Regions from separate parts of the Homo sapiens genome. Here regions 2, 3, 4 and 5 are each linked to region 1. Evidence: promoter capture Hi-C in 16 types of primary human blood cells and fetal thymus (Javierre and others, 2016). All regions are on one chromosome and are shown on one strand. The core of a region is centred on a gene start or on the middle of the fragment in contact, and the rest is flanking DNA. Distances in the headings are between cores, read along the strand shown. Region 1 holds the start of NELFB (negative elongation factor complex member B). Region 2 holds the start of PHPT1 (phosphohistidine phosphatase 1). Region 3 holds the start of ARRDC1 (arrestin domain containing 1). Region 4 holds the start of DPH7 (diphthamide biosynthesis 7). Region 5 holds the start of FBXW5 (F-box and WD repeat domain containing 5).

Region 1 (5,369 bases), core at 1,494-3,993:
ACTTTAGAAGGCTGATGTGGGAGGATCGCTTCAGCCCAGGAGTTCAAGACCAGCCTGAGCAACATAGCCAGACCCCACCTCTACAAAAATATATATATATTTTTAAGTAGCCCCAGTGTGGTGGCACGTGCCTGTGGTCCCAGCTACTCAGGAAGATCACTTTAGCTCAGGAAGTCAAAGCTGCAGCGAGTCGTGATCACGCCACTGCACTCCAGCCTGTGCAACAGAGTGAGACCCTGTCTCTTAAAAAAGAAAAAAAAAGAAAAAAAGCCAGGCACGGTGGCTCACCCCTGTAATCCCAGCACTTTGGGAGGCCGAGGGGGGCGGATCACCTGAGGTCAGGAGTTCAAGACCAGCCTGACCAACATGGAGAAATCCCATCTCTACTAAAAATACAAAATTAGCCGGGCGTGGTGATGCATGCCTGTAATCCCAGCTACTCGGGAGGCTGAGGCAGGAGAATTGCTTGAACCTGGGAGGCGGAGGTCGCAGTGAGCCGAGATCACGCCATTGCACTCCAGCCTGGGCAACAATAGCGAAACTCCGTCTCAAAAAAAAAAAAAAAGAAAAAGAAAAAAAATTAGCCAGGCATGGTGGCGGGCGCCTGTAGTCCCAGCTACTCGGGAGACTGAGGCAGGAGAATGGAGTGAACCCGGGAGCTTGCAGTGAGCCGAGATCACACCACTGCACTCCAGCCTGGGCAACAGAGCGAGACTCCGTCTCAAAGAAAAAGAAAAAAAGTAGGGGAGGGGGGATTAACTTCACATGAGCGGGCTTTCCGCAGATTTTAAATGTTGTCCATATATCACTTTAACGAAAAGTAAAATGCAAACAGAAAAACAACCAACTTTCTTTCCAGCATGTGTACAAGCCAGCCCTCCCCCACCACCCAGCCAAGAAGCAGAACCACCCGATCATTCACAGGGCAGCAGAGTGCTGATCCCCAGGCAGCTGAAGGCGCTAGCCGTGGCATCCCCAAGAGGTGCCCCACCCCGCACACGGCCTGTCCCCTCACCTCGCCCTGGCGCCTGGTCTTGGGGGAAGGACTGAAAAAGTTGTGCAGGACAGAGAGCTCTGTACTGAAGAGAGCGCTCTCCTTCTCCAGGATGTACTGCTTCAGGAGTGGGGAAACCTCGTCCCCGAAGAGGGCCTGGTTGTCTTGCCAGATCTGCCGCTTCACCTCCACGGCGCAGGCTCGATACAGCTCCTTGTCAGCCATAACCAGCTTCAGTTTTTTCTCCGGAACCTACATGACACCACAGGCTGCCTGTGAGTGGCACCTGTGTCCCTGGGTCTCCTTCAAGACAAGCCAAGAGGCCTCAGCCCCGCAGAGACCACCTCGAGCTAAGCTCCACCCCACAGGGCACCTATGACTGGTTCCCCGGCCCCAGCATGTCAGACAGACATGCTAAATACCAACAGCTCTTTCCCAGGAGGGGCCCCACACCCTAACTCCAGTGCTAAGGTTCGGTCTCCACGCGGCTCATGTGGGAGAAGTCAGCACAGAGCTCACCATGGACAGCACTTGGGCAGGCAGCACAGGAAGCTCCCGGAGCTAGGCGGCCACCGGAACTTCCACTAACCAAGGGCATGAGAGTGGGCGGACGGTCCACGCCATCAGGGTTAGGGTTAGGGCCCTACCTTGGGCAGGTGCTTCATGACGCACATCACCACGGGCTGCAGGGACGGCATCTTCACCAGAGAAAAGCTCTTCTCCAGAAGGTCTTCCAGCTTCTTGTACCTGGAACAACTCACAGGATTGATGGTGCAGCGATGCGCCAAATCGCAGCAGCTACCTGCCTGTCCCTACACAGATAACAGCTACCAGGACAAGCCTCCACGCCCAGGACACATGGGTCAAGGGGTCACTCAGACACAGGCCCAGGCCACCTCTGGGAGCAAGGATGTGGAGCCAAAAGGACAATAAATGCCCCTGAGTCGATCCAAGGCTGAGAGGCCGGCTGCACATCTCACCTGCCCACCCCTCCCGCTGACCCACCTTTCCTCAGCCTTCCCCTCCGAAGCGATGGCTGACACTCGCTCCAGCAGCTTGTCCCGCAGCTCATCGAATACCGACTGGTGGAACTCCAGCCGCGGCGTCCCGTGCAGGTCCAAGAAGGGGAGGGCTGACTGAAGAGATGGCAGCAGCACACCATTCTCTGTCTGAGGAAGCCAAGAGAAACCTCAAACGCAGCCCAGTGCGCCCGGGCACCCCGAGGTCCTGAGAGCACAGGGAGGCACGCACCCAGGTGTTCCCAGCCGTGCTGGCGGTAACCGCAGCCACCGAAAGCCACCCAGCCGTCCAGCAAAGGGGTGCTGGCTCCGGACTCCACCCCCAGAACAGGACTCAGCCACCAGCAGAAAGCCGGAAAACTTCCGGCGCCTCCGCCAGGCCCGACTCCCGAGCAGGCGGCCCGGCCCTCCAACTGGGCTCCCCCCGCCCCGGGGGCCGCCCCACCTGGAACTGCTCGATGGCCTTGAGCGGCTCCGTGCAGTTGGTCAGGGTCTCCTTCAGGTCCTCGCCGTTGGCCACGCCCAGGTCCTGCAGCCCCGCGAACATGGCCGAGGCCCCGGCCACCGCCCGGCTAGGCGCCCCATCCCCAGCCCGTTCCCCCGGCGCCGCCGCAGACACCCCAGAAGCCCGCTCCGCCGGGCCTCGGGGACCGCCCGAGCCCCGCTCCCCGGCGCCCTCCAGCTCGGCCAGGTCCCGCCCGCCGCGCGACTCCGCGCGCGTCCCGCAGCCGCCCACTTCCGCCCCGCACCGCCCAGGTCCGCCCGCCAACCGGCCCCCGGGAAACGCCGCCGGGGCCGCGCGCAGGTTCCTGGGAGCAGCGCCCTCACCCGGCGCGAGAGACCCCGCCCAGCCAGCCCAGCGCGCATGCGCCCACCCGGTCCCGCCCGCGCCCGGGCTTTCTGGCAGAAGAGGGCGGGTGAGGGCGTGGGGGGCGGACTCAGGGTCCGTCTGCTCCGGGAACGGACGTCGTCGCAGCCGAGTGAATTTCGTGTACATAAGCGTGGAAAACGCTCTTGCAGATCTCGCGGCAGCCACGCGCAGCGGGGACGTTTTGCCGGGGGTTGAGCTCCCCGCCCCTCTGCCCCGCAGGGGCCGGACACAGGCGCAGACTCCCTCCTGAGCGTGGGTTCCTCCGCGTGAAACGGGCACGAAGCCCACCCCGGCGCTGTCGCCAAAACTGAGATCTGAGCGCCTTCAGGGGGCCGGGGCCTGGCGGAGACCGGGCCCGCAGCGGGAGCGCGAGCGACGGCCGCCCTCCCAGGCACCGGGAGGCTGTGGCGCCCACCGAGCTCCGCGGAGCCGTGAAGGAGAGTCCAGGTTCCACAGTGTCCCTTCTTATCCCAGGCGGGTGGGCTCCCCGGGCCTCCCCGCCTCTCCAGCCCGCCGCCCTCCCGCAGGCTGTGCCGCGCCAAGCCCCCTACACACACCCTCTCTCTTTTCGGTCTCCGCTGCTGAAATTTTCTCTAGAAATTTCTTTCCCGCTGCCCAGCAAACTCTTGCTCTTCCTTGAAGGCTTCTTCCTCCACCACCTCCTCCAGGAAGCCCTCCCTCCTCAGCCCAGCTGGAGGAGATCGCTCCATCTTTCCTGCCGCTCCCACTCCTAGCTTTGGGTCTCACCAGGGGTGCCTGGTGGTGCAGCCGTGAGCAGAGCTCCTGTTCCCACAAGCCGGGCCGAGCTCCCAAGGCCATGGCTACCACAGCTCTCTTGCCGCTGGCCAAGTTGGTCAGCCCTAGGGCGAGGGTTCCAGTGCCTTGATCCAACCCCCAGCTGGTTCGGTGGCAGAGGAGGACAAGGGTCACAGCACACACACAATCCTGAGCCTGGGATTCCTCTCTGAGAAAGGGGGTGGTGCTGAGGCCACAGAAGCAGCTGCCCAGAGCCTTTTTGAAGGGGTTGAGCTCTGGGCCTGGTCTGGGTCCTGGGTCTGGGGAGGACCTGGGGAGGTGCGGGTGACGGCACCGCAGGTAAGGCTCCTGCAAGGTGGCAGCCTTGGGGCCCGACCCTGGGTAGGAGGGCAGGCCAGTGATGACAAGGGAGGCCCCAGCCAGGCGAAGTTGCAGGCAGGGGCAGTGCAGGGTCCCAGCAGGTGAAGGCCCCGGGAGTGGAGTCTGCAGGGCCCTGGGCCAGAGTGTTCAGGGCACAGGTGACTAAGCCCAGCCAGGTCTTCAGCTCAAGGCCTAGGGGAAGTGGGGCTGGGCCCTGGTGAGCAGATCCCTGGGCCCTTCCTGAGGTCTGGCCAGGCCGACCCCACCTGGAGGTGGCGGCTCAGGGCATTTGACGCCTCCTTCCCAGTTCCCTGGCTCGGCAAGCAGCTGACCCTCAGGTGGACAGCAGCTAGACCAGGCCCCTGAGTGACACGGCTGGGTGGGGGTGTCCCACAGAGCCCACCTCCCATCTCGCTCCAGGCTAGAGCTCAGGGTCAGTCACAGGCTGCCACCCTAGAGAAGAGAGCACCTTTCAGGGGCAGCTGAATGGAGACCCCTCAACAGGGAAAGCCGGAAATGACCCAGCGGCAGCCATATCTCTAGGACCGCCCCCGGGTGAAGGACAGACAACTGCACACCACAGAGCTCGGGAAAACCAACAGCATCTCAGTGTAGCGGGGAGATGGGCAGATGGGGGATCCAGGCTGGGCCAGCCTTGTCCACAGCCCATAGAAGGGTTGGCCAGCCAGAAGGGTGCATCGGGGTGCCCAGAGGGTCAGAAGGCCAGGCTGGGGCCCCAAGTCCCAGGGGAGGCCTGGGAAAGCCCCGGGGGAGGCCATGGTTCCACTCGGTGGCCGGGCCAAGCAGGTTGTGCCCAGCTGGCTCTAGAGCGTGCAGAAGGGGCCTGTGTCGTGGCGCTTGGGTCTGCGTACACCCTGGATGACCACGCCAGGCGCCGAAGGGAAGCGTGAGTTGCAGTCCTCCACGTGGTAGGCGGCTGGGCCAGGGGTTCGGGCTGCCGAAAGAGAAGGCTGGGAGCCCCACCCAGGTAGCAGCCCCAACTCAAACCTGGCTCCCAGTTCCCACCCCCGGCCCCTGAACCCTTGTCCTCACATTGCCCACCCATGCCCCATCCCTAGCCCTCTTCTCTCCAGGCCTCCTTACAGGTGCTGAGCCAGGAGGTGAACGCAGGGGAGCGGCTCATCGAGAAGGCCGGCGAGCGGGGGCTCTGCAGGCGGCTCCCAGGAAGGATATTGTAGGTGTTGGGGCCAGGGCATCTCTTGCCAGGTGCCTGCAAAGAGGCCTGAAGCAGGGACTGGGGCTGCACCCTGAGGCCCAGCCCCCTAGCCCCAGGCAGCCCTAGGTGGGTGTGGCCTTCAGGTGTCTTGGAAGCGGAGTGGCAGCCTCTGAAGCTGAAGGCGGGGAAGGC
Region 2 (5,369 bases), core at 1,813-4,312, 410 kb after region 1:
CTACTTACCCAGGAACAGGACCAAGGCGGGCAGCAGGTGGCTGGACAGAGGCATGGTTGGGCCAGAGGGAGCAGTGCGGCCACACAGGGTGCCTGGGAAGTTCCGTGCGGTTATCAGCCTGCGCTGGCCCCGCACGCTGACTCTGCTGTTAAGTGGAGGGCCCCTCGGCCCGGCCCCACCCAGTGCTGACGGTGCCAAGCATGGGCCGTGAAAGTGGCCCCAGGAGGGGGCCTCTGACCCAGGGTCAGCTCCCACCTGCCCGGCTCCCTCAGACACAAGGTCAGGCTCTTCCACCCTGCCCTGCCCTGCCTGGTGAAGGGGAGGCTCCCACTGGAATGGGGAGGGACCCAGGCACCCCACCAGGACTCTGCTCGGCAGTGTGGGGCGGGCAGAGGCCGCCGTGGCCTCTCACTGTGCCTCTGGCAATAGCGTGGTGCTGGCCAAGGTCAGGACTCAACCAGTCCAGCAGCTGCAGGAGTCCAGCACGTGCACCAGAGCTGGTCCCTGCGTTCTCAGCCGTGGGGAACCTGCCTTTAAGTCAGGCTGTGGAGGATCACGCCGTCATTCATTCGTCCTGAGCAGCCAGGTGCTGTCCGGTGCCAGATACAGGGTCCCTAGGAGCCCAGAAACTTCGGTTTCTCATGGAGCAGACTCATGCTTGGGGCAGGGTCTTTGGGGCTGGGGAAGGAGTGTGGCATTTGGGGCCAGGCCCTGTTTGTGATTTCCCATGGTGTGACCTCGGAGCTTGTGTCACTGAGCCTCAGTGTCCCGGTCTGTAAAATGTGGTTATGACAGTGCCCGTCTGGAGAGGCTGGCCGGAGGACCAGTGAGCTGACAAAGGTGGGGGTGCCCTGTGTACAACCAGCCCTGGCCCCCAGGGTGCCCCTGCACCACCCCATGGAGTCCCACTGTGTATGGGGCTTCCCAGGGCAAGGCCTGAACCCGTGTCCTGCCCACAGCCCTGCCGGGTGCAAGAGGGACCTGGGAGGGGCCTCCAGAGTCAACGTGAGCCTGTGGGGTAGATGCAGCTGTGCGACCTGACCCTGGATACTGGTAGGCCCCATGGGGCTGGTCATGGAAGGAGCCTGCAGGTCACGGAAGGAGCCTCAGGGCAGACAGGACACTGGGGAGCCCTGGGATGGGCTCATAGGAGGGAGCACTGGTGGGCGCCCCAGGTCTTGGCCAGCCCGAGGGACCAGGCCCTGACTCCTCTCGCAAGGGCTTGCCAGACCTCCTCCAAGATGCCCTGGAGGACGATGGCCGTGGGAAGAGCAGTCAGGCCATCAGCGGGCCCCTTTATCAGACCCCAAAGGGCTGAGTGTGCACCGCCACTCCCTGGGGCCACTCCTGTGTTCCCCCACCCACCTGCTTTAGTTAGGGTCTGGGGGCCCCCGGAGGTGGTGACGCAGGGTGCAGGAAGCCAAGGACAGAGTTCAGAAGCCGGCAGGTGTGGCAACACGTTTAATTCTGTGGCCAGGCTAGCCTGTCTCCAAGGCCTGGTGGACAGCACGTCACCAGAGGCTGCCGCAGGAGCAGGCAGGGCCAGCCCTGCAAGAGGAGTGCAGGCAAAGGCGGGGGCTCTGAAGTGGCTGCTGGAGGCAGCAGGCCCCGGGCTGGGAGTGCTCAGTAGCCGTCGTTAGCCCAGGTGACCTCGTAGTCGGGGTACTTGGCTTTGATTTTCTCAGTTGAAATGGCGTGCTGGGCAGGACCATAGGCCTGGAGAAGAGAAGACGCCTGCTGGCACTACCTGGACCCTTCAACCCGATACCCGGCTCTGGGCATCCAGCCACCAGCCACACCAGAAGCGAGTGTGGGAAAGGGATAGGCAGTGCCTGGGGATGCCAAACCCACCATCCCGACCGCCCTTGGGGGCTCCCCTGGGGAGAGGCGACCTCCACAGGCAAGCAAACCTTGATGGTGGATCCTGGGGCCTGAGGCGCCCAGAGGGACGCACGTGGGTCTCATCTGCTGGTGGTTTTTGTGAAGAGCACAGGTGGGGACTCTGAGCTCCACCCAGGTACTGACTGCCTCTGGGGGCCCAGGGCCCAAAGTGCTGGAGGACAGCTAGAGCCCAGCAAGGCCTCCCAAGGCAGGGAGAGGAGACAGCCGGCCATGTCTGGGGGTGTCCGTCCCACCCCTCAGGTCTGGCGTGTGCTCCATGGGGGAATGCAGGAACACAATGGGCCCTGGAGGGAGGGCTCTGCCGCCGACCCTGGGAGAACCCCAGGAAGCCTGCGTGCTCAGCTGGGGCCACGGGTCAGGGCAGCAGGCTCAGGTGGGCCTCGAAGCTGGTACTGGGGCCTCCGGCAGGGCGGGACGGGGCTGCGGCTCACCATGGAATAGCCGTACACGTGAATCTTCTTGTCCTGACTCTGGTGGGAGATGCGCCCGCCGCCCAGACACTCACAGTCGCAGCCTTGCTTCTGCATGTCGCCCGACACTTTGTCGTAGATGTCCGCTGGGATGGGAGGGCGGCCTCAGGACGTGCCCTGGCCGCCCTTGGAGGCCGCGGGAGGAACTCCCAGCCGAAGGGGTCTGAAATCCCAGCTCTGAACAGCCCCTTCCCCAGGAGAGACGAAGCCCCTTGAGGCTGGGACAGGGATGAATGAGCGAAGGAGGGTGGAACCGGGGAGGGCGCGGGAACTGGGAGACTGCTGGGGAGGGTGTCAGGCCGTGTCACGCCCTTCCCGCCCAGGACCTCAGCCTGGGTCAAACCTAGCAGGGGCAGGACTCGGAGCAGAGCGCAGTCCGCTACGGCCCGCAGCCCCGCCCCCGCCCCGCCAGCCCCGCCCCTGCCTCGTCAGCCCCGTCTCCGTCCCGCCAGCCCCGCCCCCGCCTCGCCAGGCGTGCCCCTGGCATGCCCGCAGGTCCCGCCCTCACCATGGTACTCAGCCCACTTGTAGCCGCGCACGATCTCCTTGCTCTCTGCAGCCGGAGCCCCGGAGCGGGGAGCCGAGTGGACTCGGATCAGCACATACTTGAAGACGCCGTCGGAGTCGATGTCCACATCAGGAATGAGAGCGAGGTCCGCCACCGCCATGTTCCTCCTCCCGGAGTCCCCTCCTCCCACCCGACCCGGGGGCCGCTTGTACTGCGGGAGGCGGGCTCTGCGAGAGCGACGACCAATCCCGTCGGGGAATGCTTCCCAAGGCCCAGCGCCTCAGCCAATTGTACCGCCGACCGAGGCACGTGCTGACCAATCGCAATCCAGTTCCTTGCCGCCTTGCGGCTCCGCCAGCCCCGCTTAAAGGAAACGTGGAATCGGGAATGGGTGGTGATGAAATCCAGCCAACGGAGAAGTTCCTCTCCAGCGGGGTCCGGTGGCACCCTTGGAACGGGGCAGTTAGGCGGCCCGCGAGGCTGGGGCAACGAGGGAGGCCTGAGGGACTTGCCAGCCCTGACCTCCTGTCCCGCACGTAGTCCGAAGACCACCCTCCCCGTGGCCCCCACCGCCCAAAGGCCTCCCTCTCTCCCCCTCCCACCGCCCGAAGGCCTCCCCCCTCCCCGCTCTCCACCGCCCGAAGGCCTCGCTCTCCACCCCCTCCACCGCCCGAAGGACTCCCTCTCTTCCCCGTCCACCGCCCGAAGGCCTCTCCCTTTCTCCTCTCCACCGACCGAAGGCTTCCGTCCCCAACCCCGCTACCGGTACAAGGAGGCAACGGCAGCCGCTACATTCAAGTTCTATTTTACTTGGTTCGAAAGCTCTTGCCCCCTGGAAATTATTCCGGTCCAGGGGCGTTCCCGGCCGGCCCTCAGGGGTGGGGCCGAATGCAGAGGCCCTGGGGTAGGGGGCGCGGGGCGCGGCGGCGGGTGGGCAAGCGGGACGCCTGGCCGGTGCAGACGCGCGGGGACGAGATGGGCGTGCCGGGTGCGAAAGCAGGAGCGGAGGCGGGGGTGCCCAATTTCTCTCACTTGGTGCCCCCTCCCCTGGCTCCGAAGTAGGGCTGGGGACTCCAGGAGGGCCCTTGCGTTTGGCCTCCACCCCTCTCCCGCATACCCCACCCTCCAGAGAGCTCTGGGCGCGGACCAGGGTGCACTTGGGGGACAGGTGGAGGCCGGGCCGCCGGGCTTGCGCCTCCACGCCCGCAGTACGGCGTGCGGCCAGAGCGGGTGTGCGGGGACCTCTCGGGACAGGTCAAGCCCCCTCGGGTGGGCTTCCACGCTTACCAACTAGCTCTCTCCCTCACCTGCTCGCACCACGCTTTGCCCTCCAGGCTCCCACCTGGGAACGCCCCGTCCCTTGGTCCTTCCTCTCCTAGCCAGGTGTCAGCTCTGGCCAGGCCCAGGTGCTCTGCTTCCCCTGTTCAGGTCCCCTGCCCCTTCGGCTGGGAGACTTGCATATCGGCCTGAAGACCTCCCTGCGGTTTTTCCCAGCTCCTGCAGGGCCCAGACTGCAGCGGCTGGAGGCGAAGGGACGGCAGGGCGCGTGGCGTGGTTAGTGTGCTGGCTCCGACCAGCGGGAACGCACTGCGCACCGTCCGCCCTGCCCACCGCCTCGGCGGGACGCGCTCGCGCACACGGACGCACAGAGGTCGACCAGGGTGTTCTCCAGCGAGGAGGCAACACAGCCGCGGGAGGCGGGGCGGGGCGTGTTTAAAGTGACAGACTGGGCTTTGGTTACGTCGGGCTTCTGGACGAGGGGAAACCGGAGTCGGGGAGGCTCCAGCGAGAGCCCCGCGGACCGACGGGGACCGGATCTCTACGGGTGGGGTCTGTGCAGTAGTGACCCCTCCGAGTGAAGGCAGAGCTCGGCGGTCCTCAGGCCCACCCCGCCTCCCAGCGGGGAGCACCGAGGGCGAGGACCGACTTCTTCTGGGGATCCTCGAGGGCGAGCTGGGAGAGGGAGGAGGCCCGGAGGAGGGAGAGGGGTTGCTGGGGGTGGGAAGGCGAAGGGCCTGTGAGGAACACTACGGGGACGAAGGGCCGGGGGGTGGGGGCCTGGGCGGAGCTGGAGGCCGAACTGAGCGGAGCTTGGAAGGCTGGGGAATTAGAGGCGGGGCCTAGAAGAAGTCGGGGTGGGGCCCTGGCGGGGCTCGGGGGCGGCCCTGGGTGGGCCGGGCGGGGCCTGAGTGGGCAGGGCAGGGTTCGGGCCAGCGCCTGGGCTAGGCCTGGTGGGCCCGGCGCCTCACATGATGTCGTCCAGCAGGTTGGCGCTGGCCACCCAGTCGAGCGCGCGCGGCTCGGAGGCGGCCATGATCATGCACATGAAGGGGCGGCCGGTGCGCCGGTCCGTGGGGTAGATGGTGGTGGGCGTGAAGCGCCTGTTGGCCTCGACGAACTCGCAAAGCTGCTCGTAGACGCGCGGGAACTCGTGGCGCAGGAAGACGCCGCGCAGCCGCAGCTCGCGCTGGATGTGGATGAAGGCCACC
Region 3 (5,369 bases), core at 859-3,358, 350 kb before region 1:
CCATGAAGACCCACCCACTCCTCATCCTCATCCCAAAGGACTCACGCCTGCCACAGAAGCTGTGACCTGTAAGCCACTCCCCCAGTCCTGTTTCCAAATCTGTATCATGAGAGTAACAACCGTGCCACTTGCCAGGGCGCTGAGGGTTAACTGAGGCTGGCCCGTGGCACGTGGAGAGAATTGCATCGGGCCCACCATGAGTGCTCCGAGAACCACTGTCGGCCCTGGTCGCCCATCCCAGTAACAGCAGAACAAGAAGTGGTCCTGCCTGAACCCCAGCCCTGGACTGGGCCAGCCTGAGCTCCAGAAAACTGCTCCCTCCCAGGCCTCCCTCCGCGTCAGCCCTTTAGACAGCCGGTGTCCTCACGGCTGGGTGCTGACTGTCACCGACACTCATCGGCAGAGTAAGTGAGCAAGCTCTGGGGCCCAGGCAGGGCTGCTGTCCTCCTGGGGGCTGAGGGCCTCCCTACTGGCTCCTAGCAGGATTGACAAGCATCCTCTGAATGAGGAAAAGAAACCATGGTCCTTCTGTTCCCATCCCAGGCAGGGCTGGGGGAAACCCCCGGGGGCCCCGGTACACCCTCCCACCTCACTTGCAGCAGCCTGAATCATGTGCTCTCTGGCCCATCAGGGCCCATCTCCTACTCCTTAGCTCACGACCCTCCTTTTTCTCCCTCATTCAGACCAGCCTCTGTGAGGTAGGACCATCAGCCAGTGCTCCCTCGGCTCTTGGGCCAGCTGCCCAAAGTGCTGGGATTACAGGCGTGAGCATTCAACCCACCCACCACGTCCACCCGGAGGCCAGGGGAGCCTGCACACCCAGGCCAGTCACGCACCGCGGGGCCGTCCCTTCCCTGTGGTAAGCAATGGCCTGCTCACCCCAGGCCACGCCAGGGGAAGGACGACAGGGTCCTGCACAGCCCTCAACCAGGATCCAGCCGGCCTCACCACACACCACACCTGTACCCAAGAGATGTGTGTGCTATCTCTGCCCTGCCACGGCCACACCTGCCCCCACCCAGACCCCAAACTCAAGGTTGGGACAGAGGAAGGGAGGCTGTGGGGTCATCCCAGGAGGCCCAGTGGGGCCAGGAGCCTGACAGAAGCACCTACCACCCGGCTTCTTCCGAGGCCCCACAGCCTCAGGCGGTGCAGGGTCAGGGCCACAGCACCATCACCTGTCCCAGGAGGCTGAGAGGACAGAACAGAGACTGTGGGTTCTCAGCAGGCACAAAATCGGTGCTGTTACCCACGCGCGGGCCCAGCGGTCAAGGTCCAGCGGCAAGTCCAGGGGCTGTGGCACAGGCCAAGCAGCCCAGGTGGTTCCCACAGGAGGCCAAGGTAGAGAAGTCCCCGGCAGGGACGCGGCACTCACAGCCAAGGGCCGGGCAGAGGCAGCCTCACCTCGCGGGCCGGCCCTCACCTCCAGGGCGCCCTGCCAGCGGCCACTGCAGCAACCCGATACCCAGTCCCCGAGGCCCAGGCGTCCACCTCGGCGGGGGGCCGGCGAGGCCTGCTGGCGGGTGGCAGGGGGCGCAGGGAGCCGCAGCAGGTGTCTGCACCCCGCCGGGACCGCACGCCCGCGCCAGGAGCGGCTCTGCAGCGGGAGCGCCTGCGCCGGGAGCCAGGGTGCGGGAAGGAGCCCAGCAGGTGCGAGCGCGGACGGGGAGGGTCGCAGGCCTGCGTGCGCCCGCGCTCAGGGCGTCCTCCACAGTGGACCCGCTTCAGGCCCCGCCGGGACCCCGCCGCCCCTCGGCGAGAGGGCAGGAAGGGCAGACGCGGAAGGGCGGCGCCGCCCGGACCTCCCCGGCGCCGCCGAGCCCGCTTCCCAGCAGTCCCGGGCGGCGAAGACAGCGACTCCGCGGGCCCAACCCGGGGCCAGGCGACGGCAGCCGCTTCCGGGAGCCCTGGCCCCGCGCAGGTGCGGCCAAAGGCCCTCCCCGAGGACCCGCGCCCACCTCGGAACGGCAGCGGTGCCCCCAGGCGCACGCGCACGGTCCCAGCCAACGGCTCCCCGGGGCTGTAGACGACGCGGCCGTGGCTCAGGCTGATCTCGAAGAGCTGCACTCGCCCCATGCCGCGGCCTCACCGGCCAGCCGCGCAGCGACGCCCCCGCCCGCCGCCCGCGAGTCCCGGCTCCGAGGCCCGGCCCCGCCCCCTCCTATGCCCCGCCCCCATCCGTCCCAATCCCGGCCTCCACCCCCATCCGGCCCCTCCCAGGCCCTGCCCCGCCCCACGGCCCCGCCCAGCCCCCCGGCCGCCCCGTAGCCCGCGGACTGCCGCTCGGAGGCCCGGCCCAGCCCCTATTCCCCGCCCCATCCGTCCGTGTGGCCCCGCCCCCTCGTTATTCCCCGCCCCTCTGACAGCCTCCTCGCCCCGCCCCCGCCCTTCGCCCCTGCCTCGCCTTCCCAGCTCCGCCCCTGCCTCGGCCGCCCCACCCCTGCCCCGCCCCCCGGCCGCGCTCATCCATCCCCGGCCCTGGCCCTGTCCCGGCTGGGTAGGTGCTGCGCTGCGTCGGGCGCCGCTTAAGGGACTTGAGGCGCAAGCGTCCCGTGCGTCCCCCACGGAGGGAGTCACCGCCGCGTCTCCGTCGGGGGGCAGGGCTGGGGGCGGGGCCGAGGCGAGCTCTGAGACTGGGAAGGTCTCCCCGCTGCACTCTGCTGCGGGCAGAACCCACTCCTCCGCCCCCACCCTCCGCCCGTCCCGCCCAGGGGTCTCCCTCACCCCGAGTCGCGGAAAAACGTCACGGGGCCGCGCGGGCGTCCTGGGCGGGGATGCTCCGCCGCGTAGGACCTGCCCCGCCTCAACCCCCACCCCCGGCTCCTGCCCCGCACCCCCAACCTTCTCCGCACCTACCTCGCGTCCCAGCACCTGTCGCGCCCCTCCGGAACCTGCCCGCCCTCCCGCCTTCCCGGTACCTGCCTACCCCCGCAACTGTCCCGGCCCCCAACACCTGCATCGCCCAACCCCTTCCCCCCCCGCCCCCTGCCTTCCCCGCACCTGCCCGGAGTCCCAGCACCTGCCCCGCCCCCCGCTATCCCCCTCCTTGCTGGCCTGATGGGGTGTGGGCCCAAGGGAGCCACACTTGGGCGGAGGCCCTTGGGCAGGGGTCCGCAGCAGAAGGGTCGGGGGCCAGGTGGGGCGAGGACTTGGATCACTTGAAACCAGGAGGAACACACTCCCATTTATCTTTTTTAAAGGGTCCCTTTGTAGAGAGTGAGCCGCGGGGGGTGGGACTCAAATACCCAGGGGACCTAAGGCGGGAGAGACCGGTTGGGTAGTCCTGGAGAGGGAAGGCGTCGCTCGACAAGGACCAGCTCACCACGGAGTGGGTGTGCGGGCCCCAGTGCTGCGAGTTTTTCTAGGACAGCCGGTGAAGAGGGTGGCCTTCTCTGATGGGGAGGACGGACCTAGATACACATGGTTTGGGGGTGGGAGGGTCATCACATGCAGAGTCTGAGGTGCCACTGATCCCCAATGGACCAAGTACTTCCGTGCATGAGCCTGGGAGTCAAGCACTAAAATGTTGCCATCCCTAGTTGGTAGAAGGTAACAGGTCAGGGAGGAGGAGTCTGGCACCCCAGCAAAGAGAAAGGGGCTCACAGGCTGGAGGGGCCCCCGGGCCAGGCTGGGAGAGGCCCTGAAGCCCCAGGCCCAGCTCACTCCCTTAGGATTCCGATGTTTCCGGAGGTGGGTCTAACTGGCCATGCTCCAGACACTTTCCTGCCAAGGCTATGCACAGGCAGAATTCCCGAACAAGAGAGAAGGGTGCCATGGGATGGCAAGGATTGTGGACAGCCCTCCCGAATGGCAGTCGGCCATGCCAGAAGTCAGAAAGAAGGTGTTTCACCGGGCGCGGTGGCTCGCACCTCTAATCCCAGCACTTTGGGAGGCCGAGGTGGACGGATCACGAGGTCAGGAGATCGAGTCCATCCTGGCTAACATGGTGAAACCCCGTCTCTACTAAAAATACAAAAAGAAAAAAAAAAATTAGCCGGGCGTGGTGACAGGCGCCGTGGTCCCAGCTACTTGGGAGGCTGAGGCAGGAGAATGGCGTGAATCCAGGAGGCGGAGCTTGCAGTGAGCCAAGATCACGCCACTGCACTCCAGCCTGGGCAACAGAGTGAGACTCCATTTCAAAAAAAAAAAACAGAAAAAGAAAAAAAAGAAAGTGTTTCAAGCAAGGGACAGACAGACTGTATTGCAAGCTACTGAGATGGAAGACAATGGACACAGAACACAGGTGGCCTTTATCCCAGGTCAGCCACAATCTAAGCCCCACAGGACTCTGCACATCCTTGATTCTGACCCTATCTCCCACCCATCCTGTGTTCCAGAAACCACCACCAGCACCAACCGCCCTGTCATTAGACTCTTCTTCTCCAAGCATACTTCTAGCTGCACTCTCATGAAAACCTGGCTTCCCCTGGAGCTTTCGGGTGTAGAGATATCTTTTCGCAGGATCCCTCTACCTCTGGGTCTGTAGGTGGGGTTGGGGCCCTCCTGGCTCCTTCCTAACACTACCAGGCCATTCTCCACCCTGGGAGCTACCATGTGTAAGCTTCCTGGTCTCAGAATCACCAGCACCACCTTCGCTCTGGTCGGCATCTTCATTTCTTGGTGATTTTAGCTCCTAACTCACTGTCATTCCCTCCATCTCCAAGTGTGGAAACTCAGTGCTTCTGAATCCACACAGGCAATCCTTCCAGCCTCCTGCCCTATATCCTAAAAGTACCTGGGTTTTGTTTGAATCAGGTATAGTAAAGTGACAGACTAGAAGACAAGTGCCACAAAGGAAGGATTTAGTACTCGTGGTTCTCAGGAGGAGGGGCCCTGCCATGCCACGCAGGGCCAGAAGGGGAAGTACCAGGGTCAGGAGGAGCCAGGAGAGAGCATGACCCAGAGCCTTTTTTGTGTTTTCCTCAGGGTGAAAATGGACAAGGCAGGGTAGGTAAGTGTGAGCAAGTTTAGGATTAGATAGCTTGAATCATGTCAGCAGACTCTAGGTCACAGCAGGGGGCTCTAGCCGTCTGGTATCTGTCCCTGGGGGATGCAGGGCAGGAGAAATGCTGGCTTGGGGTGTGAGAGTCAGATCAGGAAGAGACTGGGGATATGGGCTCTGGATTGGTGTTTATAAAGTTGTTTGCTAGCTCTGGGGATTAGCCAGCCCTGGAAGGGGCAGCATCTCCCTGACTAGTAAAGCCCCCAAGATGTCAAAGCATAATAACATACAGAAAAGGAAAAGTGTGGGCCGGGCGCAATGGCTCTGCCTGTAATCCCAGTACATTGGGAGGCCGAGGTGGGCAGATCACCTGAGGTCAGGAGTTCAAGACCAGCCTGGTCAACATGGTGAAATCCCATCTCTACTA
Region 4 (5,369 bases), core at 978-3,477, 320 kb before region 1:
GTTGGGGACATTTTTTGCTGAGTAGGTGAAAGCTGCCAGGGAGGGGGACATATGTGTCCCTAGAGATGGCGGGTCAGCAGGTTGGGGTTTGGGGCAGTCTTCAGGCCTGGAGCCCCGAGTGCCCTCAGGCAGCCTGCTTTCAGATAGAGTCTGAGGATGAGCACGGAGTGCAGGGGTCCCCTTTACCTGCATCCAGGGGTGTGGCCATGTTGCCCCTGACCAGCAGGGCTGCTTTGTTTGGCAGTCATTCATCAGAAAAGTGCACTGAAAGAAGCGCCCAGGGCCTCCCACCTGTGAGACACCACGCTGGGGAAGGGGGCGGTGCAGGTTCTAGGTTTGCATGTGGCAGCTCCTCCAGGCCTCACCCCAGCAGGTGGCACCGTGAGGGTGGGACGGGCCCCACCACTGCTTCCCTCTCACCTGATACCCAATCCTCTGGTCATCTTTCCCGTTCCGTGGCCCCGACTTCTTGGTCTTCGTAGCCAGGTATCTAAGACGTCCTGTGAGGACATCCAGATGGCTGCAATGTGGGGCTGCTTCTAAAGCTTGTTTGGAGTGTGGTGTGTTGGGATGCGCACCTGGTCACTCTCCCTCCCCCGCAGAGGTGTGTGGTTGAGGCCCTTTTGGAATGCCCTGCTGCCTTCCTGGCCAGCCTTTTCTGCGCCTCTGTCTCTGTGGTGGTCTGAGCTGTTGGCTCTCTGCCATGTCTTTAGCCACAGCCCTGCTTGAAGCCCTGAGGCTGAATACCCAGGCACCCGTATATTTCAGTCAAGTCCGCCTTAGCTTCCTGGAGCTGCCGCAACAAAGCAGCGCGAGCTGTGCAGCCTGAAGCAGCGGGAATTCACAGTCTAGGCTCTGGAGGCCGGAGTCTCAGATGAAGGCGCAGGCAAGGGCCCTCAGGTGCGGACGCCTCCTCCCTGCCAGGTGCCTTGCCTGCCTCCCTGTGCTCTGCACAGCAATGGCCCTGCAAGTCTTCTGCATCAGCTTTCTCTTCTGCGGACTCCTGCTCCTCTGGGTCAGGGCCCACGCCTGCTGCTTCTGAGAGCCCCTGTTTGTTAAGGATGCTCTCTGAGGTGCTGGGGTCTTCAGTCCATTGTTTTTTGGGGGGCACAGTTCAACCTGTAACGGCCCAAGGGGTTCTTCCTGCCCGCTGCACACATTCAGACCGTGGATTGCAATAAAGAAAAAAAGTTTAGGGCCGGGCGCAGTGGCTCACACCTGTAACCCCAGCACTTTGGGAGGCCGAGGCGGGTGGATCACGAGGTCAGAAGATCGAGACCATCCTGGCTAACACGGTGAAACCCCGTCTCTACTAAAAATACAAAAAATTAGCTGGGCGTGGTGATGCGCGCCTGTAGTCCCAGCTACTGGGGAGGCTGAGGCAGGAGAATGGCTTAAACCCGGGAGGCGGAGCTTGCAGTGAACTGAGATCGCGCCACTGCACTCCAGCCTGGGTGACAGAGCAAGACTCCGTCTCAAAAAAAAAAAACAAAAAAATTAATAGACACGGGCCGGCCAGGCCACATGTGAGATGGAGTTCGTCCTCAGATCATCTTGTCCAAAGCTCCTAGGTTAGGGGTTTTTTCAAAGGCAGTTTTGGGGGAGGGGGGCGGCGGCCAGGCGACTGGTGCTGATAATCATAGGGGTCGGAGCCGTCCACCTGCTGAGCCGCTTCTGGGGGGTCCTGATGCAGCCACGGGTGTCAGACAAGCAAAGACCCTGGAAGGCGGTCTCTGAGGGGCAGCTCCGCCATGGCGGGTTCACAGGAGGCAGGCAGAGCGCGCCTGCGGCCTCGGGGTGCTGGGCTTAGTGGGGCGCGGGCTCCTCATCAGCTTTACGAAGGCGTTGATTCCGGGGCAAGGCCTGTCATGGAAACTGCAGCCTAAATGTTAAGTCAGCGCGGCCCGATGGCCAGGAGTAACCGGGAGGGCGCCACGGGGTGCGCTACCGCAGCTCGCTGTTGGGGTTTTTCTCAGTGATAGAAATTTTGCAGAGGCGGCTTCAAACCTACGGCTCTGTCACTAACTTGCCGTCTCCAAACCTGCTTTGTGGAGGAGCGGATTTCCCGAAGCCTTCGGTCTCTACGGCCCCGCAGGGAGCAGCGCGTCTGACGCCTGAAGCCCGCCGCGGTCAGCCGGCCGACAGGGGGCGTGGGAGCCTGGCTTCCCAGGGGCGTCCACGGAGGCCAAGGCCCTGCCGGATGTCCCGCCCCGGCACCCCGGAAGGAGTCGCGAGAGAGGCGGCCCGCGCTGACGGTGTCCCTGGGGCTCTGCGCTCGTCCGGCCGGCCCCGGCCTCGCCGCCCCGCGCAGTACCCAGCCCGGCCCCGCCGACCCGCCTCTACTGCCGGCTCCGCGCCCTTCCCCGAGGGCTGGATGATGGGCTGTTTCGCCCTGCAAACGGTGGACACCGAGCTGACCGCGGACTCGGTGGAGTGGTGCCCGCTGCAAGGCTGCAGGCACCTGCTGGCGTGCGGGACCTACCAGCTGCGGCGGCCGGAGGACCGGCCTGCCGGCCCCCAGAACAAGGTGCGCGCGCCGCGGCTTCGGGAGGGGAGGGCGGGGCCGGCCACGAGGTTGAGGCCGAAAGGCGCACCGAATCGCCCAGGAGATGAAGAGGGGATATTGGCCCTTTGGCCAGGAGGTAGGCTGGAAACAGTTTAGAATCTTTTTAAAAAAATTGTTCTCGGCCGGGCGCAGTGGCTCACGCCTGTAATCCCAGCACTTTGGGAGGCCGAGGCGGACGGATCACGAGGTCAGGAGATCGAGACCATCCTGGCTAACATGGTGAAACCCCGTCTCTACTAAAAAAATACAAAACAATTAGCCGGGCGTGGTGGCGGCGCCTGTAGTCCCAGCCACTCGGGAGGCTGAGGCAGGAGAATGGCGTGAACCCGGGAGGCAGAGCTTGCAGTGAGCCGAGATCGCACCACTGCATTCCAGCCTGGGCGATACAGCAAGACTACATCTCAAAAAAAAGAAATTACTTTTTTCTGAGACAAGGTCTTGCACTGTCACCCAGGCTGGAGTGCAGCCTCGGACTCCAGGGCTCAGGGCATCCTCCCGCCTCAACCCCCTGAGTAGCTGGCACCACAGGCACGAGCCACCGCCCCCGGCCAACTTTAAAATCTTGAGAGCAGAACGTCTTCTATATACAGGTGTGGCCCAAGGGAATGGGTGGAATGTACAGTAAAGAGAAAGTGGGAATTATATCTTAACTTCTGGTGGGTACATATTAGGATCCAAATTGGGCACTGGAACAACAGGCGTAAGTCAGGACTGTCCCAGGCAAACTGGGTTCTGTGGTTACCCTAGCCATAGCTGGTCCCTGTTGGCCGGTTTAGAAGGAGCCTTCTCTACTGGGTCCAGGAGTGTTCACCTACTCATTAATAGACGTTTCTCCAGCTCAGAAAACCAGAGGTTCTCCTTCCAGGCAGAATTCCACTCCTTTAGTCATGGCAAACCTTTGAGTTCCTTGGATCCCTTTTCCCATCCTTTGGGTTCCTTCGTGTCTTGGGATAATCAGAGACTACCTCTGCATTTTTTGTAGGGTGGAATGGAAGTTAAGGAGCCTCAGGTCCGTTTAGGCCGTCTCTTCCTGTACAGTTTCAATGACAACAACTCTATTCACCCTCTGGTCGAGGTCCAAAGAAAAGATACTTCTGCAATCCTGGACATGAAATGGTATAACTGTGATAATCCCACTGGGTGTAGAATTTGTCATGAGTAGCAATCAGGGAAGCCTGATGCCTGATGCCTTCAACAAGACAGGCATTGCATCTCAACTTTGGATTTGTTTCTTTGCTGTCCCGCCTATCTTCCACCTGGGGAGTGCTTTACCTGGGGCTTATTTCCTTTGTCATGTTCCAGCCGGGGAAGTGATGGGAGTTTTCTGACTTCATAACCTGGGGCGTCTTTTGTTTGAGAACACAGTTGTAGGCTCTAGCCCACTTTTGGAGCTGAGATTTAAATGCAGTGGTGTGTGGCATAATTATGTTTTGGTCAACAATGGAGCACGTATACCATGGTGGTGCCTTAACGTAATGGAGATGCCCTATACAGGTGTACCAGTTTTTATCCTTTTTAATTTTTTTTTTTTTGAGGCAGGGTTTTGTTCCGTTGCCCAGGCTGGAATGCAGTCACGTGATCATAGCTCACTGCAGCCTTGAACTCCTGGGCTCAAGCAATTCTCTGTCTCAGCCTCTCGAGTAGCTGAGACTTCAGACTTCAGGTAGATGCCACCATGCCTCTTTTTTTTTTTTTTGAGACGGAGTCTCGCTCTGTCGCCCGGGCTAGAGTGCAGTGGCGCGGTCTCGGCTCACTGCAAGCTCCGCCTCCTGAGTTCACGCCATTCTCCTGCGTCAGCCTCCCTAAGAGCTCGGTCTACAGGCGCCCGCCACCACACCCGGCTTATTTTTTTGTATTTTTAGTAGAGACGTGGTTTCACCATGTTATTAGGATGGTCTTGATCTCCTGACCTCGTGATCCACCCGCCTCAGCCTCCCAACGTGCTGGGATTACAGGCGTGAGCCACGACGCCTGGCCTTACCACACCTCATTTTTGTTTGTTTGTTAGTTTGTAGAAACAGGGTCTTGCTATGTTGCTCAGGCTGGTTTCGAACTCCTTACCTCAAGTCATCCTCCTACCTCAGCTTCCCAAAGTGTTGGGGTTACAAGTGTGAGCCACCATGCCCGGCCACCTGTTTTTTATCCTTTATATTGTATTCTTACTGTATCTTTTCTATGTTTAGATATACAACCACTTCCTGTTGTGTCACACTTGCCTGCAGTAACATGCTGTAAGGTTTGTGGCATAGGAGCAGTGGGCCATACCATATAATCAAGGTGTGTAGTAGGATGTCCCAGCTGGGTTTGCGTGGACTGCAGCCCCGTTGTTAAGGGAAGCGTGACTGTGGTTACCGGGACGCACAGTGCACGCCTGTGCTCCGGGCACATTGGTGTGCTTATGGTGGGCCCTCTCCTCAGGTGTCACATCCCGGTGGCTGGACATGCCCTCTTGGGCTTGGCAGATGCCAGTGGATCCATACAACTGCTCCGCCTGGTGGAATCTGAGGTCAGTGACTTGCACTTGTTCTGTGGGGCAGAAGGGACCTGAATAGAGAGGGTTGGGGAGGAGGCTGTGCTGATACAGACATTTTTCTAAAACGATCTCTCTTCAATGGTGAGCTATATATAAACGTTCTAAGATAATGTGGAGTCTATTTTTAAGTTGTATTGCGTTCTACATCCAACTCCAAGAGGAAGTCACCTCATGTGTCACCAGCAGAAGGGCTGAAGTGACAGGATGTTCATTGACCTGTCAGTGGATCTGAAAGTTCTCTAAGGAGAGCCTGGGCAAGCATTCTTAGGT
Region 5 (5,369 bases), core at 1-2,500, 310 kb after region 1:
AGCGGCCGAGGACCCCTGTGTCTCCATAGAGCTGGCGCACCTGCCAGCAGATCCCATCCCTGGGGGGGCGGGGAGGAGGCACCACAGGCTGGGAGACCCCAACCAGGAATCCTAGTCCAGGCCACAGCCGGGGTGGGGTCAGGGGCCAGAGCAGGGCTGAAGTCCGGGGGCTGAGAGGAGGGTTGGGGTTAGGGTGCAGGGCTGCTCTGGGACTCACAGCTTTCGGAAGGTACTGACAGCCATGGCTGTGCCCTGGGGAGCCACATGCAGTGTGGTGGCCTCGGCCCGGTGGCCCTGCTCCTGCAGGAAACGGCAAGCGGAGCCCACAGCCACAAGGAGCCAGGTCCCTGCAAACTGGGGGCAGACCATGGGAGAACTCGAGGGCACTGTGGGAGGGCCCCTCACCTGCTTCCCTCTACACCCCCCACAACTTCACCTGCTTCCCTCTCCCCCGCAACAACTTCTACCTGTCTCCCTCTACCCCTCCCACAACTTCTACCTGCCTCCCTCTACCCCCCCCAACTTCTACCTGCTGAGCATCAAAATTGGCCTTGGGCTGGATGGTGCTGATGGGGGATGCGGGCCGGCGTGGCCTCTGAGGCTTCTGGCCCAGCGAGCCAGCTGCCAGGAGCAGAGTCAAGAGGGTCGCAGTCCCAGGGGGCAGCATGGTGGCGGCAGCAGGGTGGCAGGACTGTGGGAGGCCAAGGGTAGCACCACCAAGTCCCAGGACAGAGTCTACTCTGCTGTCACAGAGCCCAGCCCAGGAAGTCCATGTCCATCCGTTGCCTCCCCACCCCCCACCTCCAGCCTCCTCGTGAGCCTAGCTTCGATCTGCACTTCCTGGCAGGGCCCTGGCACCATGTCCTATGTACAAAGTCCGAGTTGACCTCTGGCTGTTTATCCATTTCTCCTGCACCCCTGATTTCCACCGACAGTCCTTAGCCCTTTACACGTTATCTTCCTTAAACCATCACCCAGTGGTCTTATCTCCATGGCCAACGTCACGGGGTTCATGAAGCCACTTGCTCAGGGCCCGGCAACAGGGAGCGCCGGAGGCGGGTCCCGAACCAGCGTTCGTTGAGCCTCGCCTGCAACCCCGCCCACGACCGCCGCCCGCTGGCCACAAGGGGCGCTGTTCCCAATGCGCCCGAGTGCGCGCAGGCGCACAAAGAAAAGCCGGCCAGGCCGCCGGAGCCCAAGGCGCAGGCGCACGAGGGGCGGATGCGGGCTACCCGCGCGCTCTGCCTTCCTCGGCCATCGATGCCTCGGGGCTCGTGGCGTCGGGCCTGGCGGGCTCCCCGTTGGGCGGGGGCGGCGGTCCGAGCGGCTGCGGCAGCGGAAGCGGGTCCGGGTCGCGCAGGGCGGGGGCGGCGCAGCGGGCGGAGGCGGCCGTGGTGAGTGCGCCTGCGGCCCTCGGGGGTCCCGCCTTGTCGTCCCCGCCCGCCTTGGGCGAGTGCAGGAGCCCCGAGGCCGCCCGTGCGCTCGTCCCCGCCGTCCGCCCCGAGCCCGCCGGGCAGAGCTGCTCCAGGGCCGCAGGGCGGAGGCCACTGCCTGGCCGCCCCGAGCTTCCTCTCGGCGGAAGCCCGTCCCCGGACGGCGCCTGGTGTCCCCGTGCCTCGCGTGCGGCGGTCCGGGCCCTGGCGGGCTGAGGGGCGCCCGCTGCCGGCCGCAGGAGGCCGGGGGATGACGCGGCGGAGAGGGGCCGGCCCGGCCCGCCCGGAGCTGCCGGGTCCTTGGTTGGGCGGCGGTACCCGGGCGTCCCCTGCAGACACGCAGCCCCGTGGAACTCCCGGCGGGACGGTTGGGGCTGGAGGAACAGGACGCCCGCTCTCGGCCTCCCTTCCCGGGCCTGGGCTGAGGGCAGCCGTTGGTGGGTTTCAGGGCCGCCTGGGCAGAATGTCACGATGGACGAGGGCGGCACGCCCCTGCTCCCCGACAGCCTGGTCTACCAGATCTTCCTGAGCCTGGGCCCGGCCGACGTGCTGGCCGCCGGGCTGGTGTGCCGCCAATGGCAGGCCGTGTCGCGGGACGAGTTCCTGTGGAGGGAGCAGTTCTACCGCTACTACCAGGTGGCCCGCGACGTGCCCCGACACCCAGGTCAGTGGCGTGTGGGGCCCCTACCCACGTTCTGCAGCCAGGGCCCCGGGCCCCTGCGCTTGGGGGTCAGCCTGGCTGGGGGCCCGCCCCGCGGCCCCGCGTGTCCATGCTCACCCCCCCACACCCTGATAGAGGCCTGTCAGGACACAGCGCAGGCGCCCCTCAGAGCTTGGAGGCCAGAGGGTTCATTGGGTCACTTGGGGGGTGGGGGGTACAGGGGTCTCTGTGAGCTACAGGGTTGAATCCCCCAGCCGAGGCCTATGCCATGACTAGTGGGTTCCAGGGGCACCACGGGGCCTGCCAGGACTGCTGGGGCCACACTCGGCTCATGGCCGTGACTGCGAGGAAGGCCCGGGCCCAGGACTGACAACTGCCCACCCGCAGCGGCCATGTCCTGGTACGAGGAGTTCCAGCGGCTGTATGACACGGTGCCCTGCGTGGAGGTGCAGACGCTGCGGGAACACACAGACCAGGTCCTGCACCTCAGCTTCTCCCATTCCGGGTACCAGTTCGCGTCCTGCTCCAAGGACTGCACTGTGAAGGTGAGGACGGCCAGGTGTCCTGCACACCCCACCCAGCTCTGCCGCAGCACGGAGGTCCCAGGACCCAGGCGTTCCAACCAGGTGGTGGTGGGGGGGGGGGTGGGTCAGGCCAGAGGTGACAGCAGCCTCCCTGCATCCAGCGGAGGGACCACAGAGGATCAGGAGCGGTGCAGGGTGGCCCTGAGTGCTGAGGAGAGGGTCCCACACACAGCCGCCTGCTTCAGGGGCAGGCTCCTCCGCTCTATACCAATGCCCCCCGAGTGGATGACAGTGGCTGGAAGGGGTCCCTGCTCCCTGGTGGCCTCTGAGTAGGGCTGGCAGAGCTGGGGCCTCATGGCTGTGTAGTAGCAGGCCCCCGCCCCGCGACCTGGCCAGGCGATCACTACAGCCGCCCCTGCCGAACAGATCTGGAGCAACGACCTGACCATCTCGCTGCTGCACAGCGCGGACATGCGGCCCTACAACTGGAGCTACACCCAGTTCTCCCAGTTCAACAAGGACGACTCGCTACTGCTGGCCTCGGGGGTGTTCCTGGGGCCGCACAACTCCTCATCCGGCGAGATTGCTGTCATCAGCCTAGGTGAGCACGGGCGGCGGGTTGACCCTGCCCCCGCCCCACGCCGACAGCCTGTCCAGCCCCGGCCTCCCCACAGACTCCTTCGCGCTGCTGTCCCGCGTGCGGAACAAGCCCTATGACGTGTTTGGCTGTTGGCTCACCGAGACCAGCCTCATCTCGGGGAACCTGCACCGCATCGGAGATATCACCTCCTGCTCGGTGCTGTGGCTCAACAATGCCTTCCAGGTGCGTGCGGGGCTAGGGGCGGGGCTGCCCTCCTGGGGCCTGGCGCCCGGCGCCCACCTGGCACGTGCCCCCGCCCCCAGGATGTGGAGTCAGAGAACGTCAACGTGGTGAAGCGGCTGTTCAAGATCCAGAACCTCAATGCCAGCACCGTCCGCACGGTGATGGTGGCCGACTGCAGCCGCTTCGACAGCCCTGACCTGCTGCTGGAAGCCGGTGACCCGGCCACGTCCCCCTGCCGCATCTTTGACCTGGGCAGCGACAACGAGGAGGTGGTGGCTGGCCCGGCCCCCGCCCACGCCAAGGAGGGCTTGCGGCACTTTCTGGACCGCGTGCTGGAGGGGCGGGCGCAGCCACAGCTGTCGGAGCGCATGCTAGAGACCAAGGTGGCCGAGCTGCTGGCCCAGGGCCACACCAAGCCACCCGAGCGCAGTGCCACAGGCGCCAAGAGCAAGTACCTCATCTTCACCACTGGCTGCCTCACCTACTCCCCACACCAGATCGGTACACCCCTGCCGCCATGCTGCCCGCCTCGGTCCTAGGAGCTTGGGGGAGGCCGGGCAGGGGTCCTGAGGGGCAGACAGCAAGCAAGTCCACAGGCAAAGCTGGGATCGTTCACTCGCCCCTGGGGTCACAAGCCCAGACCTGGGGCCTGTGGGATGAGCAGTGAAAACAAACGCAGGCAGGGCCGCTGGCCAGCAAGCAACCGACGGGCCTGATTCAGGTCTGGGGCCCCCGGAGCAGGCAGTGCCCACGGACCTCTGTGGTGCTCACAGCCCCAGAGACACCACTGAGGTAGGAAGCTGCCCTGGAGTGATGTCCTTGGGGCATTGGACAGGGACCCTCACCGTAGCCCTCCCTGCAGGCATCAAGCAGATCCTGCCACACCAGATGACCACGGCAGGGCCCGTGCTGGGTGAGGGCCGGGGCTCCGATGCCTTCTTCGACGCGCTGGACCACGTCATAGACATACACGGACACATCATCGGCATGGGCCTGTCGCCCGACAACAGGTGGGCCTCTTGCCAGTGTCCCAGGCGGGGTGCCCGCAGGCGGCCCACACCTAGCACAGTGCCCCTCGCCCAGGTACCTGTACGTGAACAGCCGCGCCTGGCCCAACGGTGCGGTGGTGGCCGACCCCATGCAGCCGCCACCAATCGCGGAGGAGATTGACCTGCTGGTGTTCGACCTCAAGACCATGCGGGAGGTGAGGCGGGCTCTGCGTGCGCACCGCGCCTACACGCCCAACGACGAGTGCTTCTTCATCTTCCTGGACGTCAGCAGGGACTTCGTGGCCAGGTGCAGGGCGCGGCGTGGTGCAGGGCGGGTGTGGGCAGCAGCGGGCGGGCGGCCGGCTCACCCAGGCGCTGTTCTGCAGCGGGGCGGAGGACCGGCACGGCTACATCTGGGACCGCCACTACAACATCTGTCTGGCCAGGCTGCGGCACGAGGATGTGGTCAACTCAGTGGTCTTCAGTCCCCAGGAGCAGGAGCTGCTGCTCACGGCCAGCGACGACGCCACCATCAAAGCCTGGCGCTCCCCACGCACCATGCGCGTCCTCCAGGCACCTCGCCCACGGCCTCGCACCTTCTTCTCCTGGCTTGCCAGCCAGAGGCGCTGAGGTGTGCTGGGTGCACTGGAGCCACCGGGACCCCTTGAGGACATCGCCAGGCTCTGTGGCTTTTTCCCGAGCGGGAGAGGTGGAGATGCTTATAGCAGTTACGCCTTAGGAAGGGGACAACCAGGCCCCGCCACACGCTCACACACAAACCTGCTCACGCAGCTGTGATGCTTGGCACGGGGTGGCCAGTGCAGATGGAGCCCAAGGCCCCCTCGGCCTCCTGGGCAACTTGGGGTACACAGGATACTGGGGGTGCCGCTCCTCACTCAACCCCAGGCTAGGGGTACACCTGACCCAGCTGGCCTCGGC

The links. The method cuts DNA at HindIII sites, captures the fragments that hold promoters and counts their contacts. A CHiCAGO score of 5 or more calls a contact.
Region 2: the fragment with the promoter of PHPT1 here is called in contact with the fragment with the promoter of NELFB in region 1 in 8 of 17 cell types (neutrophils, fetal thymus, naive CD8 T cells and 5 more); the score reaches 9.8 in neutrophils.
Region 3: a contact is called between the fragment with the promoter of ARRDC1 here and the fragment with the promoter of NELFB in region 1, in 6 of 17 cell types (naive CD8 T cells, M0 macrophages, non-activated CD4 T cells and 3 more). The highest score is 9.2, in naive CD8 T cells.
Region 4: a contact is called between the fragment with the promoter of DPH7 here and the fragment with the promoter of NELFB in region 1, in 11 of 17 cell types (naive CD4 T cells, total CD4 T cells, non-activated CD4 T cells and 8 more). The highest score is 8.7, in naive CD4 T cells.
Region 5: a contact is called between the fragment with the promoter of FBXW5 here and the fragment with the promoter of NELFB in region 1, in 12 of 17 cell types (erythroblasts, M0 macrophages, total CD4 T cells and 9 more). The highest score is 10.0, in erythroblasts.

Annotation. Positions count from the first base shown.
Region 1 is chr9:137,252,701-137,258,069 of GRCh38, reverse strand. It overlaps NELFB (negative elongation factor complex member B), which reads right to left and starts at 2,743. Exons shown (of 13, transcript NM_015456.5): 1 at 2,459-2,743; 2 at 2,000-2,163; 3 at 1,642-1,741; 4 at 1,016-1,246. The coding sequence starts at 2,704. STPG3 (sperm-tail PG-rich repeat containing 3) reads right to left here. Exons shown (of 6, transcript NM_001004353.4): 5 at 5,105-5,369; 6 at 4,587-4,955. The coding sequence ends at 4,825. It overlaps STPG3-AS1 (STPG3 antisense RNA 1), which reads left to right and starts at 4,573. Exons shown (of 4, transcript NR_038389.1): 1 at 4,573-4,907; 2 at 5,095-5,195. It also overlaps a transcript of CIMIP2A not described here. RefSeq lists enhancers at 1,440-2,387, 2,388-3,335 and silencers at 2,346-2,405, 2,446-2,625, 2,636-3,005, 3,196-3,375. The HindIII fragment of the contact is 15,726 bases long and covers 1-5,369 here.
Region 2 is chr9:136,847,102-136,852,470 of GRCh38, reverse strand. PHPT1 (phosphohistidine phosphatase 1) reads right to left here and starts at 3,062. Exons shown (of 3, transcript NM_014172.6): 1 at 2,881-3,062; 2 at 2,334-2,458; 3 at 1,447-1,716. The coding sequence starts at 3,040. The coding sequence ends at 1,624. AJM1 (apical junction component 1 homolog) reads right to left here. Exons shown (of 3, transcript NM_001080482.5): 3 at 3,670-5,369. The coding sequence ends at 5,126. MAMDC4 (MAM domain containing 4) reads right to left here and starts at 125. Exons shown (of 27, transcript NM_206920.3): 1 at 9-125. The coding sequence starts at 54. RefSeq lists silencers at 2,741-2,820, 3,211-3,270, 3,451-3,530, 3,611-3,670, 3,891-4,120 and 1 more and an enhancer at 2,811-3,090. The HindIII fragment of the contact is 15,345 bases long and covers 1-5,369 here.
Region 3 is chr9:137,602,425-137,607,793 of GRCh38, reverse strand. It overlaps ARRDC1 (arrestin domain containing 1), which reads right to left and starts at 2,108. Exons shown (of 8, transcript NM_152285.4): 1 at 1,959-2,108. The coding sequence starts at 2,076. LOC124902318 (a long non-coding RNA gene) reads left to right here and starts at 2,456. Exons shown (of 3, transcript XR_007061885.1): 1 at 2,456-2,497. RefSeq lists silencers at 1,437-1,706, 1,717-2,846. The HindIII fragment of the contact is 16,425 bases long and covers 1-4,563 here.
Region 4 is chr9:137,575,783-137,581,151 of GRCh38, reverse strand. It overlaps DPH7 (diphthamide biosynthesis 7), which reads left to right and starts at 2,227. Exons shown (of 9, transcript NM_138778.5): 1 at 2,227-2,527; 2 at 3,549-3,682; 3 at 4,985-5,072. The coding sequence starts at 2,375. RefSeq lists enhancers at 1,822-1,881, 976-1,947, 4,682-5,369 and a silencer at 2,132-2,541. The HindIII fragment of the contact is 6,073 bases long and covers 548-5,369 here.
Region 5 is chr9:136,940,619-136,945,987 of GRCh38, reverse strand. FBXW5 (F-box and WD repeat domain containing 5) reads left to right here and starts at 1,250. Exons shown (of 9, transcript NM_018998.4): 1 at 1,250-1,394; 2 at 1,882-2,097; 3 at 2,482-2,639; 4 at 3,045-3,219; 5 at 3,293-3,441; 6 at 3,522-3,942; 7 at 4,304-4,451; 8 at 4,525-4,737; 9 at 4,817-5,369. The coding sequence starts at 1,905. The coding sequence ends at 5,060. It overlaps C8G (complement C8 gamma chain), which reads right to left and starts at 745. Exons shown (of 7, transcript NM_000606.3): 1 at 530-745; 2 at 218-354; 3 at 1-59. The coding sequence starts at 667. RefSeq lists silencers at 1,207-1,786, 2,167-2,236 and an enhancer at 2,072-2,837. The HindIII fragment of the contact is 9,073 bases long and covers 1-5,369 here.